Regions from separate parts of the Homo sapiens genome. Here region 2 is linked to region 1. The links are contacts of gene promoters, found by promoter capture Hi-C in blood cells and fetal thymus (Javierre and others, 2016). All regions are on one chromosome and are shown on one strand. Each heading gives the region's core, a stretch centred on a gene start or on the middle of the fragment in contact. The rest is flanking DNA. Distances are from core to core; before and after follow the strand shown.

Region 1 (4,685 bases), core at 241-2,740:
TAACCTTCTCCTCAACCATGGTGCTTCCATGTGTGTTTTCATTGTGTTGAAGCACGGCTCTAAGGAACCACACTTTTGGGTCCAGAGTGATTCTAGTTGCTATATATGAAATAACAGGACTGAGATTGATGTTGTTCTTTCTGGAGGCCAAGGGAAGGAAGATAAAACCTTTGAGTCATTCTTCAGCCAAGGATTTAGTTATTTTGGTTTATTCTCTTCTACATCAGTTGTAGACAGCACAGCTAACCCTTTAGAGATGAAGCAGTAGTGATCCTTTAGCCATGTTTTTCTTGTTGCTTATGTCATACTCACCTAGAGATGTAAAAGATTGTATATATTTGCATGACCTTAGGAGCACCTGGTACATTAGGCACCTGGTGCATTGTTGAAATGCTGGTATGGCCCTTAGTTCAGGATTACCTGCACAGTAGCTCCTTCATGCCATTCATTTTAGACCAACTCAAAGCAAAGAAGCTTATTCTGTCATAGTCTGATGGGATATTGTCAGCCTGCATGTCAAATACTTTGTGATAGTTAAATAAGACTACAGGACTGTTAGAAATTCTTGTCTGTTAGTCTGCATGCCATAGGCTGTCATGAAAATTAAACAGAGACTATAGGATTATTATCAGTTTTTGCCCTCTGGTTTGTAATGCAAGTTGGGCTCAAGTTTGTTTGTTTTTTTTTCCCCATTGCTGTTTTACTGATTAGCCAGTAGAGTGAAATATTAAAGTTTGTGGATTACTTTTTATTTCTATATTTATCAGACCCCAGTATTAGACCAATGCTGAGCTAAACATTGAGAGAGCAAGACATTTTTTAGCATGAGTTCATCTAGTCCCCTCCATGTAAGCTGGTGGCAGGGGTCTTGGTACTGGTTTAGATGAGTGTGGAACAGGCTAATAGAATATTGTAAGCATGCATGCCCTAAACTTGAGCCTTTCTCTCTATTTATTCCATTGAAAGTAGGTTCAGCTGCAGCCCGGAAAGAAATCATAAGAAACAAAATTCGAGCAATTGGCAAGATGGCAAGAGTCTTCTCTGTTCTCAGGTAATGATATATTTTCTTGATTATTTGTTTTGCAGAAATTACGTTTATTGTACCTTGTTACAAGCATTGTCCCGCATCTAAAAGCAAAATGGGGCCGGGTATGGTGGCACACTCCTGTAATCTCAGCATTTTGGGATGCCAAGGCGGGCGGATCACCTGAGGTCAGGAGTTTGAAACCAGCCTGGCCAACATAGTGAATCCCCATCTCTACTAAATATACAAAAATTAGCCGGGCGTGGTGGCATGCACCTGTAATCCCAGCTACTCGGGAAGCTGAGGCACAAGAATTGCTTGAACCCAGGAGGCAGAAGTTGCGGTGAGCCGAGACTGCGCCACTCCAGACTGGGCGACTGAGCAAGGCTCTGTCTAAAAAAAAAAAAAAAGAAAGAAAAAAAGCAACAAGCAACAGGGTATCATTCTTCCTATAAAGAAGTTACTTAGGCCTGGCCAGGCGTGGTGGCTCACGCCTGTAATCCCAGCACTTTGGGAGGCCAAGGCAGGTGGATCACGAGGTCAAGAGATTGAGACCATCCTGGCCAACATGGTGAAACCCTGTCTCTACTAAAAATAGAAAAATTAACTGGATGTGGTGGTGCATGCCTGTAGTCCCAGCTACTCGGGAGGCTGAGGCAGGAGAATCACTTGAACTCGGGAGGTGGAGGTTGCAGTGATCTGAGATGACGCCACTGCACTCCAGCCTGGGTGACAGAGTGAGACTCTGTCTCAGAAAAAAAAAAAAAAAGGGTACTTAGGCCCTTAGGCTGGGTGCAGTGGCTCACGCCTGTAATCCCAACACTTTGGGAGGCCAAAGCGGGCGGAGTTCAAGACCAGGCTAGGAAACATGGCGAAACCCCATCTCCACAAAAAAGAATACAAAAATTAGCCGGGCCTGGTGGCATGCACCTGTGGTCCCAGCTACTCGGGAGGCTGAGATGGGAGGATCACCTGAGCCCCAGGAAGTTGTGAGTAGTGAGCCGTGATTGTGCCGCTGCACTCCAGCCTGGGTGACGGAGTGAGACCTTGTCTCAAAAAGAAAAAGAAGTTTATATATTTGTATACTGAAGATGGGAACACAAGTCCCTTTGAAGCTAAGATTTTTGACTCTGGTGATTGTTATTGCTCATCTTTGGTATCTCTTTTCCGTTTGTGATAACACTAAATTCACACCTTGAAAATTAGAGCAGGATAAGAAGGAGGGGATACTTTTTAGAGTATTCTTGATGAACTTGTTCATCCATATAGGAAGTCCCTTGTGCTGGAGCCATAAATTGCCTTCCCTGGGGTTAATTCAGGAAGACCAGGTTAAAGGGTACAAATGAATAGGTCAGTCTTTAAAAATTTGTTTGCACAACTGACTACATCAGACATTTGAACTTCAGAGCATATGAAATACCATATTTTCTCAATAGTATGATGCCCCTTGATGAATCTTACCACATATTTAATAAAGCTTTTCAGGAAAAACAATATATGCCTCAATGGTAAGGCACACCCTCATACCTGAAACACTTAAAATATAGAAAAATTAATGTCTTGAAATTGAGGAAAATATGGTAATAGCAATGAATGTCATGAATTTTATATATGGCCTATATCTAGACCCTATGTCTTCTTTTAAATTAAGTACTTGTTGGAAGTATCTGATATTTGTTATATCTCTCTGCTATAGGGAGGAGAGTGAAAGTGTGCTGACACTCAAGGGCCTGACTCCCACAGGGATGTTGCCTAGTGGAGTGTTAGCTGGAGGACGGCAGACCCTGCAAAGTGGTAATGATGTTATGCAACTTGCTGTGCCTCAGATGGACTGGGGCACACCTCACTCTTTTGCTAACAATTCACATAATGCATGCAGGGAATTCCTTCTGTTTTTTAGTTCCTGTCTCAGCAGCTGACCTAGACAGGGTACTGTATTAGCTAGTGTCTCATTAATACCTGATCAGGGCAGAAAACTGATAGAATGGGTATTCCTTTCAATTGAAAATAATGGTCAGTTCCTCAGCTTTTCATGAAATGATATGGGAGCAGCTCATATCATAATGTCTGAAATATTTATTTATTCATCTGTCTAATTCACCCTTTTCTTTTAAAAGCCCCAGTTTCAGAATGTGAATCAGGGATATTCCTGTTACTAAAATGGAAATGTAATTCCAAGTTTCTTTTTTAATTTTTTAAATTTATGTCATTGTATTGGACTATGCTTATATTTAAAACTACTTAATTTAGAGTTAACTACCTGCTTAGGCCCCAGAACATTACTTATGCCCTTCAGTTACCAAAAGATTTGTGCAAGGTTTTGTACCCTGGTAAATGATGCCAAAGTTTGTTTTCTGTGGTGTTTGTCAAATGTTCTATGTATAATTAACTGTCTGTAACATGCTGTTTCCTTCCTCTGCAGATGTAGCTGCTTTCCTAAATCTGTCTGTCTTTCTTTAGGTTAGCTGTATGTCTGTAAAAGTATGTTCAATTAAATTACTCCATCAGACACTTGTCTGTCTTGCAATGTAGAAGCAGCTTTGTAGCACCTTGTTTTGAGGTTTGCTGCATTTGTTGCTGCACTTTGTGCATTCTGAACATGAATGTAACATTAGATATTAAGTCATTGTTATAAGGGGTTGAATTTAAATCCTGTAAGTCAAAATTGAAAGGGTGTTATTAAGTGTGCCTTTATTTTGCATGAAAATAAAAAGAATTATACGTAAAGCATTCCTGTAATCTGGCTCATTGAATATTTTATACTTAAAAAACTTTTTTTGGCGTAAATATTTGTGTAAATACTGGGTTAACTTTTTAAAAGCCCATTACAGATTAAATAGAAGAGAGTGATGTGAGTATTAGTGACCATACACAGTAATTCAGTCTAGATTTCTTTTCCTGTGGTTGGAAAGCAAAAATACATGATGTGGAAAAGCCTGAATTTCTTGTAGTCACTTTTGACAGCCCTCTAAGGGTCATTGTCTATTAAAATAGCAACAGATCTGATGTTTTCCTTAGTCATAATTAGGTTTCTTTTTGGTGTTGTAATTAGTGACTTTTTTAGAGGGAAAAAAATAGGCAATTTTAACGTTTTGAATGAATTTACATTTGACTTCACAATTTCATTTCACTTGGTTCCATAATAAGTGCTCTTTTTTTTTCTTTTCTCTCTTCTCTTCTCTTTCTTTTTCTTTCTTTCTTTCTTTCTTTCTTTCTTTCTTTCTTTCTTTCTGTCTTTCTTTCTTTCTTTCTCTCTCTCTCTCTCTCTTTCTCTCTCTCTCTCTGTCTTTCTTTTTTTGTGTGCATGTGTACATGTGTGTGTGTGAGAGAGACAGACAGGGTCTGGTTTCTTGCTGTGTCACCCAGGCTGGAGTGCAGTGCAGCCTCAACCTCCTGGGCTCAAGCAGTCCTCCATTTCAGCCACCCAAGTAGCTAAGACCATAGGCACATGCCACCACAGCCAGCTAATTTTTTTTATTTTTTTTATTTTTTATTTTTTTATATTTTTGTATTGCCCAGGCTGGTCTCAAACTCCTGGGCTCAAGCAATCTTCTGACCTCAGCCTCCCAAAGTGCTGGGATTATAGGCATGAGCCACTATGCCTGGCCAATGATTGCTTTTCAATAAAAAAAATTTTTTTCCTGTAAACAATTTTTACTTG
Region 2 (4,284 bases), core at 1,061-3,560, 210 kb before region 1:
AGGAAAGCAGTTGAGATTAGCCCATGGTCCTATTAGAGAAGGCACAGTTCCTGAAAGGGTGTACATTGGTTATAGAGCCCAGAGAGTTTGTATTCTGAGTCCTGAATAAAAGGCCCATGCAGGAGAATTGGGAACATGGAGGGCAGAAGTTTGTACTATAATTAGCTCTAGGAGTAACACAGAAGGGGGAGGGAGGGGAGTACAAGCGGCATCTATTTTGAGCACATCTGCGATTGACGGGACATGTGTGCTGGACTGTAATGATCCCAGGGCCAAGTTGCCTGCCTGTGGTGTGTGGTGTGGGGGGGAGGCCTGGGGCAGCAGGAGCAGGACAGCCGGACAGGAAGCCCAGACGGGGTTCGAGCACCTCAACTTCTCTCCTGGGGACACTGTTCAAACTCCGGGGGCCATAGGCCAAGCTGAGCGATGGGTGCTGAGGAGGAGGTGCTGGTCACACTATCAGGGGGAGCCCCCTGGGGCTTCCGACTTCATGGGGGGGCCGAGCAGAGGAAACCGTTACAGGTGTCTAAGGTAAGGGAGAGCCCCTGAAATGAGGCTTCAGGGAAAGGGAACCCAAGGGATCCTGGGAAGAGATGTGTGGTGGCATATGGCGGGGGTTGGGGGGGTGGGAGGCTGTGAAGATGGGGTGGGTGGTGGGCAGGGAAGTATGCTCAAGTCTCATAGTGGGAGTAGCGTCTGACCACAGGCTTCCTGTGGGGGTCTATTAGAAAAGAGAATTCGCGGTTTCCAGGGAGCAGAGGAAAAGGAAAGGCTCTGCTTCAGTTCCCTGCAGCACTGTGGTATCAGAGGCCCAGCTCTGGTCATCCAGTGTTTGTTCTCTTGGGTATGTGCCTCTACTCCAAACTCCAGAAATACGGGGAAGGTTCTAATTTCTCTCTGACTAAACTGATATGTGATGAACTGAAACTGCCTCGAACAGCCTAGCCCAGCCCAGCCCTACCCTGCCTCACCCTGCCCTGCCCATGCCTTCAGTGCTCTTTCCCTAGGTCAGATCCTTTCTCTCACTAGGCAAGACTTTTTTAGGTGCTAGGAGGGTTATGGCAAGATCTGGCCTCACAGATGAAGTCATTATCCTTTTGGTTTCACCCTACAGGCTTAGTTTTCCGAACTGTAAAATGTGGGTAATAATAGTACCTGTACCTACTTCATGGAACCATTCTAAGGATTAAATGCAATAATACATGTAGCACAGTGCCCAACACTTAGTAAGAACTCAATAAATGGTAGCCACTACTACTATTATTACTTTGGCATATATACATTTGTGTGTATACATGGCACACATATACCCAAATAATCACAATCTCCCAGAATACCGCTGGACTCCCTCCAACCTGGAGTACTGTTCTAAAATCTTGACTGTGTAATGGCGCCTGGGGTTACAAGGCCTAGTAGAGAATTACCAGCCAATATAGATATTGCCCTTGGAGAAAAAGCTTGTGGAGATAATCACCATTTCTTTCCGTTTTTTTTCTTTTCTTTTTTTTTGCGACAGAGTCTTACTCTGTTGCCCAGGCTGGAGTGCAGTGACATGATGGCTCACTGCAACCTCTGCTTCCTGGGTTCAAGCAATTCTCCTGCCTCAGCCTCCCAAGTATCTGGGATTACAGGCGCACACCACCACGGCCAGCTGATTTTTGTACTTTTAGTAGAGACAGCGTTTCACCCATTGGCCAGGCTGGTCTCAAACTCCTGATCTCAAGTGATCCACCCACCTAGGCCTCCCAAAGCACTGGGCTTACAGGCGTGAGCCACTGCACCCAGCCAATAACCACCATTTCTAGTTACCTACCCCATGCAGTTCTTCCCAAGCCTCTTTCATTCAATGGTTACCCTATTTCCCACCATATGATGTATTTCTTTCTCCAGTCTGTATACTTTCTTCCCTCTAGACAGGCCACTTCAACTGCAGCCACTTCCATGCATCTCCCCACCCTTCTTACCCTGCAAAGTAAAATCCCCTCCTGTGGGTCCTTCCCATCTTTTCCTTTCATTCTATTCCCTTTGGAGCCCCCTCTTACCTACAGTGTCTCCTTCAACATCTCAGATTCGAAGACGGAGCCAGGCTGGCAGAGCAGGACTCCGAGAGAGGGACCAGCTCTTGGCAATCAATGGGGTCTCTTGCACCAACCTCTCCCATGCCAGTGCCATGAGCCTCATCGATGCCTCAGGAAATCAGCTTGTCCTCACTGTGCAGCGGTATGGACCTCTCTCCTCTTCTCTTCCCCTAATCCAGGGCTCCCATTGCCTGTCTCAGCTCTATGTCTCACTGGCCTGGCTTTAGCAACTAACAGGTACCTATTTCTGCTCGTGCGTTTCTGCTGGAGTGCAGATGGTTTGTGTCTGCCTCCCAGAGGGCTTGAATGTATCTGCAATTAAGGGATGGGGATGTCAGTGGGTATTTGACTGATGAGCCTACTTCAACCCCTGGCCTGTTTCCTCCTCATTACATCTTCCTCTAAGCCTATTTCCACTCACAGCCCTTCAAGCACATTTGCCTCCCAGTTTGTCTTCATATCTCCACTCTTCCCGGCCCACCCATTCCAACTGTATGACAGCCTTCTCTCTCCCTTACCTCTTCCCTCCCCCTTACCTCTTCCCTCCATCCCTTCCAGATCTCTCTAGCTGTCAGTACCCAGCCCATCTCTCAAGCTCTGTCATCTTTCCTATCCAGGTTAGCAGACGAGGGTCCTGTGCAATCTCCATCTCCCCATGAGCTTCAGGTGCTGTCACCCTTATCTCCACTAAGTCCTGAGCCCCCTGGTGCTCCAGTTCCTCAGCCTCTTCAGCCTGGGAGCCTTCGTTCACCTCCTGATAGTGAGGCTTACTACGGAGAGACTGACAGTGATGCTGATGGCCCTGCCACCCAGGAGAAGCCCCGTCGACCTCGCCGCCGAGGCCCCACAAGGCCCACCCCTCCGGGTGCCCCACCTGATGAGGTCTACCTGTCTGACAGCCCTGCAGAGCCAGCACCTACTATCCCTGGCCCTCCCAGCCAGGGTGACAGCCGTGTGAGCTCCCCGTCTTGGGAGGATGGGGCAGCCCTTCAGCCACCCCCAGCTGAGGCTCTGCTGTTACCCCATGGCCCCCTCCGACCTGGTCCTCATCTCATCCCTATGGTGGGGCCTGTTCCCCACCCAGTGGCAGAAGATCTTACTACCACCTACACCCAGAAGGCCAAGCAAGCCAGTGAGTGCCTGAACCCCTTTTCCCCAGCCAGGATCCTTCAATCTGAGCCTTAAATCCAGCCTTCTATAGCCGTACATTCTCCCTACCTTGGGACCCTTGGATACAGTCTTGGGGACAGGAGGGGTAATGAGTAGAAGGGGAGCATAATTATTCTCATGGCCACCATTATTTTTGCTGTTTGAACCAATGTGGCAAAAGGGTAAGGTGATTCAGTTCAACCCAGGAACAGGGTAAGTAGGGAAATTGGAAAGGGACACAAATAGATGAAGGGTTTGGTGGTGGTGATAATTGTTATTGTGTGTCATGATTGGGTGAAAGCAGAGTACAGACACAGGACAGGGGAGTATTTAAAAGCAGGTTGAAGGCGGGGCAAGGTGGCTCATACCTGTAATCCAAGCACTTTGGGAGGCTGAGGTGGGAGGATAGCATGAACGCAGGATTTTTGTTTTGTTTTGTTTTTTGTTTTTTTGAGATGGAGTTTGGCTCTTGTGCCTAGGCTGGAATGCAATGGCGTGATCTTGGCTCATTGCAACCTCCGCCTCCCGGGTTCAAGCGATTCTCCAGCCTCTGCCTCCCGAGTAGCTGGGATTATAGGCACCCGCCACCACACCTGGCTAATTTTTTGTATTTTTAGTAGAGATGGGGTTTCACCATACTGGTCAGGCTGGTCTCGAACTCCTGACCTCAGGTGATATGCCTACCTCGGCCTCCCAAAGTGCTGGGATTACAGGCGTGAGCCACCATGCCCGGCAGAAGCCAGGAGTTTGAGACCAGCCTGGACAACATCGTGAGACTTCGTCTCCAGTAAAAATTTTAAAATTAGCCAAACACTGTGGCACATGTCTATGGTCCCAGCTACTTGGGAGGCTGAGGCAAGAGGATTGCTTGAGCCTGAGAGGTTTGGGCTGCAGTGAGCCATGTTTGCGCCACTGCACTCCAGCGTGAGCAACAGACCAAGACCCTGTCTTAAAAATAAATAAATAAATAAATAATAAAAATTAATAAATAAAAGTGGGTCAAAGCTACAGGGGTTCTTTTTTTTTTCTGGTTTTTTTTTTTTTTTTTTTTTTTTGA

What was found. The method cuts DNA at HindIII sites, captures the fragments that hold promoters and counts their contacts. A CHiCAGO score of 5 or more calls a contact.
Region 2: the fragment with the promoter of SYNPO2L-AS1 here is called in contact with a fragment that was not itself captured in region 1 in 1 of 17 cell types (endothelial precursors); the score reaches 5.1 in endothelial precursors.

What each region holds. Positions count from the first base shown.
Region 1 is chr10:73,442,858-73,447,542 of GRCh38, reverse strand. It overlaps PPP3CB (protein phosphatase 3 catalytic subunit beta), which reads left to right. Exons shown (of 14, transcript NM_021132.4): 11 at 970-1,051; 12 at 2,721-2,818. Among named protein-coding and RNA genes, the nearest start is that of MSS51, 12 kb to the right of the region's middle. The HindIII fragment of the contact is 2,027 bases long and covers 477-2,503 here.
Region 2 is chr10:73,652,065-73,656,348 of GRCh38, reverse strand. It overlaps SYNPO2L-AS1 (SYNPO2L antisense RNA 1), which reads right to left and starts at 2,310. Exons shown (of 3, transcript NR_187519.1): 1 at 2,043-2,310. It overlaps SYNPO2L (synaptopodin 2 like), which reads left to right and starts at 320. Exons shown (of 4, transcript NM_001114133.3): 1 at 320-531; 2 at 2,069-2,220; 3 at 2,696-3,210. The coding sequence starts at 427. RefSeq lists a silencer at 84-378. The HindIII fragment of the contact is 5,539 bases long and covers 1,460-4,284 here.